2 separate regions of the Homo sapiens genome follow, and region 2 is linked to region 1. The links are contacts of gene promoters, found by promoter capture Hi-C in human tissues and cell types (Jung and others, 2019). All regions are on one chromosome and are shown on one strand. Each heading gives the region's core, a stretch centred on a gene start or on the middle of the fragment in contact. The rest is flanking DNA. Distances are from core to core; before and after follow the strand shown. Region 1 holds the start of GHR (growth hormone receptor). Region 2 overlaps LOC102723752 (a long non-coding RNA gene).

Evidence for each region. Contacts are between HindIII fragments. The study calls those that stand out against the background at their distance.
Region 2: a contact is called between a fragment that was not itself captured here and the fragment with the promoter of GHR in region 1, in 1 of the 25 tissues and cell types used here (heart left ventricle).

What each region holds. Positions count from the first base shown.
Region 1 is chr5:42,421,017-42,424,688 of GRCh38, reverse strand. GHR (growth hormone receptor) reads right to left here and starts at 1,250. Exons shown (of 10, transcript NM_000163.5): 1 at 734-1,250. RefSeq lists promoters at 1-45, 210-557, 210-978, 1,176-1,276, 886-1,458 and 1 more, cis regulatory regions at 1,081-1,121, 1,459-1,967 and an enhancer at 1,105-1,254. The HindIII fragment of the contact is 10,174 bases long and covers 1-3,318 here.
Region 2 is chr5:41,874,247-41,877,601 of GRCh38, reverse strand. It overlaps LOC102723752 (a long non-coding RNA gene), which reads right to left. Exons shown (of 3, transcript XR_925956.4): 2 at 207-348. Among named protein-coding and RNA genes, the nearest start is that of OXCT1, 5.5 kb to the right of the region's middle. The HindIII fragment of the contact is 7,449 bases long and covers 1-3,355 here.

The sequences.
Region 1 (3,672 bases), core at 1-2,500:
AGTTCTGTCAAAACTTTAAGCCTGGTTGATTTTACAACCACTAGTGTGTCAAAAGCTGGGGGAGGTCGGCTCGCCACAATTTCCACTTACCCCAGTTCATGCGGACTGGTGGCTGTCACTCTACTGACCCCAGTTCCATCGGTGCCAACGTGCGGCTGCGGCCCGCACAAACGCGCAAAAGACCGCGCGCTCTGCGCGCTGTGTCCACGCGCACAGCTCGACCTCCCCAGTCTCTCCAGTCGCGCTGCCGGGGATTCTTCCCCGCGCAACAGCAGCAGCCTCGGCAGTTCCTGCCGCAGCCAGGCAGATGATGGCAAACAGAAACACACTAGCAAAACTTTTATGACTTTAACAAAACTGTCTCCGGAGTAAACCCCTCCACGTACACTACTCGCGGGCCAGAGCAGACGCCAGAGTGTGATGGTTCGTCTGTCGCCCGCAACTCCCTGCCGCCCTCACCAACTTCCAGACACACACACACACACACACACACACACACACACACACACACACACACTAGATTGGGTTACAACAACCCACCAGCAGAAAACAACTTCTTCGCAAGGAGGAGGGGAGCACAGCCAAGTCATCCGGAATAAAAAATTATCCGTGTAAATATATAAGACAGATCCTCCCGTTTTCATAAACAACTAGAGTCCCAGGGTTCACCCTCAGGCCCCCTGGCACAACAGGAGGAAAATAAAGCCAGACTCCCGGAGCCCCACTCCAGTACCTCCGAGCTTCGCCTCTGATCAGAGAGCGCGGGTTCGCGTCTGCGCTGGGGCCAATGGTGCCGGGGCCTCCGGCCCGCGTGGCCCCAGCCCGGGGTCCCCGCCGCCGCCCGGGCTCAGCAGCAGCCGCCGCCGCCACCGCCACTGTAGCAGCTGCTGCTGCCGCTGCCGCCGCCGCCGCCGCTCCCTAGCCCTCCTCCTCTTCCCATGGCTGCGCCCTGCTTGGCAGCTCGCGGGCTGTCAGGCTTGGGGAGGAGAGAGGGGGCGGGGTGAAACGGGAAGGGAGGATGGGAGGGCAGGGGTGGGAAAAGGCGGCCACCGTTCACCAGGGGTCACGCCGCGCCTGGCCCGCAGTCCCCCAGATCCAGGTTGCAGAAGCGAAGGCGAAGCGGACGTTCAAGGAGGCCAGTTCGAGAACTGCTGCGGAGAGGCCGAGTGCCGCCCGGGCCAAGCATTCCGAGTTGCTGGGATGAAGTCTTCCCGGCGAGGAGCTGGAGTTGGTGCGTGTCACTCTCAACTGAGCTGCGCGGCTCCTCCTAGAGGAAAATATTGGTAGTTGCAATACACTTCCTTCCTCTCCGCCTGCCCGTTCCAAATGAAAGCAGGACCTACAAGAGCGTTAAGTGCAGTCCACAGACTCAAAGAAACACTTACAAAAAGGTTAGCTATCTCCAGGAATGAGAGGAAGATCAGCGAGATACCTTGGAAAGCGTGTTTAGCCATCCAAATATTGCCTTTCCATCAACAATCAAGTTCCAAACTCCTGCTCACTGGGGCACAGTGAAAAGATAGTTAAAACTACGAAGGACTTTATTGTGGAGGTTAGAAGACGGAGACAGAGAGAATGAGTAATTTACCAAGGACACTCAGCATGTTAGCAGAGAGGTATCTGCTAGAGGACAGGGATGCAGGGAGAGCAGACACAGGCCCCAGCCTGAAGTTCCTGAGCCAGGAAAAGGGTTTTAACTCTGCCTCACGCTGGACATAGCTCATCTGTCAAATGCGAGCCCTGCCTACTTCATTCACAAGAAGTTGTAAAAGTGTTGCAGAAAGTTAAAGTTGTGCATAAGCATGTCATTTTTGTACAGCATCAAACCCCAAGTCACTATATGCTTTTCTGAGTAGAGAGTACAAAAATCTAGCTCCAGGTTGTCTCAGATCTGAAGGAGTAGCTAGTCATGCAATCTTTCCACTATTTACTGACGGTCAATTGTAATGTCACTTACTTATAAGCTTCTAACAGCTTTGGCTTACTAAAGACTTTTTTTTTTTAACAGAGCTCCCAGACACAAACCCAAGTTTATACCCAGAAAGAAATGTTTAAACAACTTAAAGGAACCAAGTTTCTTTTCTTTAGAATAAAATATCTATAGGGCTTTGAAGTAGTACACGGGAGCCAAGACTTGAGAAGGAACAGAGGACCAAAGACTCTGGGATAGCAGATATCACATAAGATACCCCTATTTTCAAAGGAATCAGATAAGTGAAAAACTGTTCCTTAGAATGCTTTCAGAAGCTCAGCTGTGGCTCAAATACCCCAGCTGTTCCAGACAGACACCTAGAATGAACGAAAAAGGAAAGATTCTGGAAGGGGCGTGTTTTATCATGGGGTGGGATGGTTATTGATCCTGAACTGCTCTTGTTCTATGGCATCTAAAAATAAGGAGGCATTTAGTTCCCCTAAGACTCTTCCCCAAACCATTGATTTCTGGGGCTTCATACTTTGCTGGAGCAATAGTGGTGCTTGGCTGTGTCTGGAGCTTTTAAAAGGGGAGGTACCCATATAGAGAAACTTGGGAAAGTAAAAGATTAGGGCACAGTCAAGAAAAACTCCTGCTGGGTGGTCCATACCTGCCAAGCTGGCTGACAGGGTAGTCCTGGCAGGAGTAGAGACCAGACAGGCCTCAAATGCTGACTCCACGCCTGTCTGAAATGACCTTCCAAGTTGGACCTTCTTCAGAGCCTGGCACTACCAACCTCTCTGTTTATATCCTCTCTGTGCCTTCTCATCCTTTGCCCTTCTTCCCTGAGCTAGAGAATCTTGATCTAGTTTAGGAGGTGCCAGACGGAGTCATAAAAGATATTCTAAATTCTATTGTTTATGCTCTGAGATGAGCTCAGGGCCATACTTAAAAAAATAAGAATTGACTTCTTTTTTTTTTTAAATCTGGGTTCAGCAATATCCTCCATTCTGTGTGCCATGAAACTAGACTACTCTGGCTGCTGCTCTGTCTTTGATTTTTAAAAAGTCATCATGCACAGAAAACATAGGAAAAGACACCTCAGTTAATACTATAGAACTAGATATAAACCTGCAACTGACATGAAGGGCAGTCTTTATTTTTAAGCCTCGTAAGTAAAGGTCCTTCAATCTCATATATGACCAGGTATTGGTCCATAGTAGTATGTGCCTCTTTATATATTCCAAATTGTGAGGGAAAATGTAGCAGGTATTGAGTTGATTAATTTGTTATAAGTTAAGGCATGCCAGAGCACATTTACCTTCTGAAGAATGAAACTGCATTTGCTCATGGTTTCCACTCTGCTTGGAAGATCCTACTTTGTCCACCCAGAGAAATCCTTCTTAATCTTAAAGTTCCAATCAATTGTTTACTTTCTCTCTGAAGGTCTTCCTGACTATTCCCCAGGGTGGAATTAATTAATTCTCCCTGTATCAGCACCTTTATAGGCCTTTATATCTTCTTTTATTAAATATTGCAGTTTTGTTGACATGTCTGCTTTTCTCATTAATTAAGAGATTTCTGAGGGAGAAACTATATATTCTTAATATCTGTACCTGCAATGTCTAGGTTAGTGCCCAGTATTTACAGAGTTTATAAAGCGTCCAATAAATAATCAAATTGAATGAAAAGTTGTATCTCTTGGATTTATATCTCTAACCCAGATCTCTCCACAGAGCTCCAGGCTAACAACTGGGTAT
Region 2 (3,355 bases), core at 381-2,880, 550 kb after region 1:
AGTATTTTTTTTGAAATGTATTATTGCAGGTGTTACTGGTTGTCTGGGAACATAAACAGCGGGATCATGTAGCCAAAATATCATACTTGGTTTGGGTTACTTTATTGTGAAAAAGATTTAACCAAATGGAATATTCACAAGGGAAGAAAATAATAATGAGGGAAACAGGGACCATTTGAAAGAGGGAAGTACAATTTGTAACTCACTATTTGACTATTTTCTTCATGTACTTCAATGACAGGTTATCTGTGGGGAGAAGACAGTTACAGGCACAGCAAAGCATGAGGCTGGATACAGGAACTGTGTTAGAGAAGAAAGGCCAAAGGATGATGGTGAGCACAAAGTAAGCTGTAAAAGACAATGAAAATGTAAATAATTACTACTATCACATCATGATTAGAAAGAAAGTATTCAATTTAAAGAGCTGAGCTGAGAGACACAGGTTAAGTTCATGGCTTGTATTAAGGCAGCAAAAAAGGGTTACCCAAGTCAAGTCAACACAACTGATATTTGTTGAACTGCTCTATGCTTAAAAGAAATCCTAGGACACTATAGATACAAAAATGAACAAAACTTAATAAGCTCATAATCCAGGTGACCAAGGGCCCTGAGAGCACAAAGTAAAAGAATATAGTTTTTTAAGAGGTGGAATTCGGAGTGTGAACAGTCAAGGTACACAGAGGAGTGACATTTGATCTGAGTCTTGAAAGAGGAGTAGGAGTTTGCTCAGCTGGCACAGAAAAAAAGGCTTTAGCAAAGGCTCCCTGTCAGAAGGTGCTTGGTATGTGCAGGGAGCAGAAAGTAGTCGAATTTAGCTAAAGCCATAATTTTCAAACATATTTAATATGAGTCACCCTTTCAAATAAAATTGTATTTAGAACCCAACATATACAATGTGTAAAAGTGGTACTTTACAGTTTAAATGCATTTTATCATTTTAATTGTGAAATATTTTCCTGTTATACATGGAAAAAATGAGAATAATGAAGCTCTTCGGAGAAGCTAAATATTGCAGCCATGGAGTTATATCTGATATTTTGCTTATTTTATTTCTGTTTGGCTGCACAATAATAAGAAAGTTCTGATTCACACTGCAGCTTGTCCCAGAATTTCAGTATATGCTTCAATTAAAGTAGATCAGAAGCTTGAAAGAAAAGTAGCAGGAAATGTTTGCTTCAGTGGTCAATAACTAATAATGTCAATTACCTCTTGTTCACATATGTAAATGTCAGACAAGATGTAGCCAAAATGGAAAATAATCTCTAAAACTATTTATAGTACAATATTATCATGAAGTGTTTTATATGCTCTTTTTGAACAACTACAATGCTGTGATAAGAAATAATTCTAGGCAGTACATGTCTCTGACCAGAGCCTCAAAGTATTATATACTTATATAAATTTAAGTGAGTCAAAATGCAGAGGTCTAAATGATAAAAAGATAAATACAGAGCTACAAACATCTTTATCAATGACATATTTTATATATTCAAATATAGGAAATTTGATGATGAGGAACCTTTAATCTAAGGTTTGTCTCCCAACTGCACAATCTGGTCTGTTTTTTTTTTTTTGTTTTTTGTTTTTTTTTTTGAGATGGAATCTCGCTCTGTCACCCAGGCTGGAGTACATGGTGCAATCTCAGCTCGCTGCAACCTTCATCTCCCAGGTTCAAGTGATTCTCCTGCCTCAGACTCCAGAGTAGCTTGGAGTACATGTGCCATATGCCAGGCTAATTTTTTATTTTTAGTAGAGATGGGGTTTCACCATGTTGGCCAGGCTGGTCTGGAACTCCTAACCTCAGGTGATCTGCCCACCTTTGCTTCCCAATGTGCTGGGATTACAGGTGTGAGCCACCATGCCCAGCCACAATCTGGTAATTTTTAATACTTTTAAATCAAAGATAGATCACAATTGAGTGTGCATGCTCCTTTTGTTAGTGTTGATAGAATAGTAAAAATGTAATCTAAAATTTAATTTCAAAATATAATGTTTGCATAGCCCCTGAAGTACCTCTGCAGAGCCCTTAAGGCCACATGATTTGTTGAGGCTAGATTAAACAAAATCTTGCCTATAATTGAATGTTGGACTTCACTTGCAGCCTTTGAGCATTTCTTGAAATATTTTAGAAAAAGATGTGAGAAGACCAGATCCTGTATTTGAAATAATAATTTTAAGTATGTTTAAATTGAGGGAGAATGGAAATTCATTTGGAAGGAAACTGAAATAATTCAGATGAGAGAAACTGAAACTGAGGCCCTGAAGTAGTGCAGAATGAGTGAAACTGGAGAGTTGGGGTAAGATTCAAAGATATCTCAGAAAGAGGGAGGTATAAAGAAATAGCAGCTTTTAATAACATATGGTCCAGGGTTTGAATCTTGCCTTATTTTTTTCAGTTTATTAAGTAAATTTTTCAGTTTACTTTATGTTTTCAGTAACCAAAGCACCTGCTGTGGTTTGAATGTGTCCTCCCCAAATTCATATGTTGACACTTAATTGCCAGTGTGATAGTATTAAGATATGGGGCTTTTCAGAGTGATTAAATCATGAGAGCTCATGAATGTGACTAGTGCCCTTATAGAAGAGGTACAAGGGAACTGTTTATGTCTTCTGCCCCTTCCATTATGTGAGGACACAGAGAAGGTATAATCTATGAGGAACAGGCTCTCATCAGACCCTTGTTAAAAGAAAAACTTTAGACAAATTAACTTTAGCAGAGTTTATTTGAGCAAAGAACAATTCATGAATCAGGCAGCACTCTGAACCAGTAGAGGTTCAGAAAGCCCCACTCAGCAATGTGAGCAGGCAGTATTTATAGGCAGAAAGAGGAATTGAGGTACAGAAACAGCTTGATTGATTATGGCCCAGCATTTGCCTTATTTGGGCACAATGCAATGTGGCATTTGCCTTATGTGGACATGGTCTTATTAGTTGGTAGTATGTGATTGGATGAAACCTGGCTGCTGTAATTAGCTGAGACTCAGCTATCTGTTACAAGAACATACTCTTAAGTAAGGTTTATTTAAACACTAACTTAGGTGCAGTTTGCTATGCAGAATTCCAAAGTATGGAAGCAGCTTTTGGCCAAATTTAATTTAATTTAACATATTCAATATGCTGGTGCCTTGATCTTGGACTTTCCAGCCTCCAGAACTGTGAGAAATACATTTCTTCTTGTAACTTACCCAGCCTAAGATATTTTGTTGTAGCAGCAAGAATGGACTAAGATAGCATCTGGGAAATAATTAATAATGTATAATCTTTTAACACCTGAATAATGCAAATATTGATCTAGAGATTACCTTACATCTTGACATTCTGTAAGCCCTGCTTAACTACTGCACCACAGAAGGCC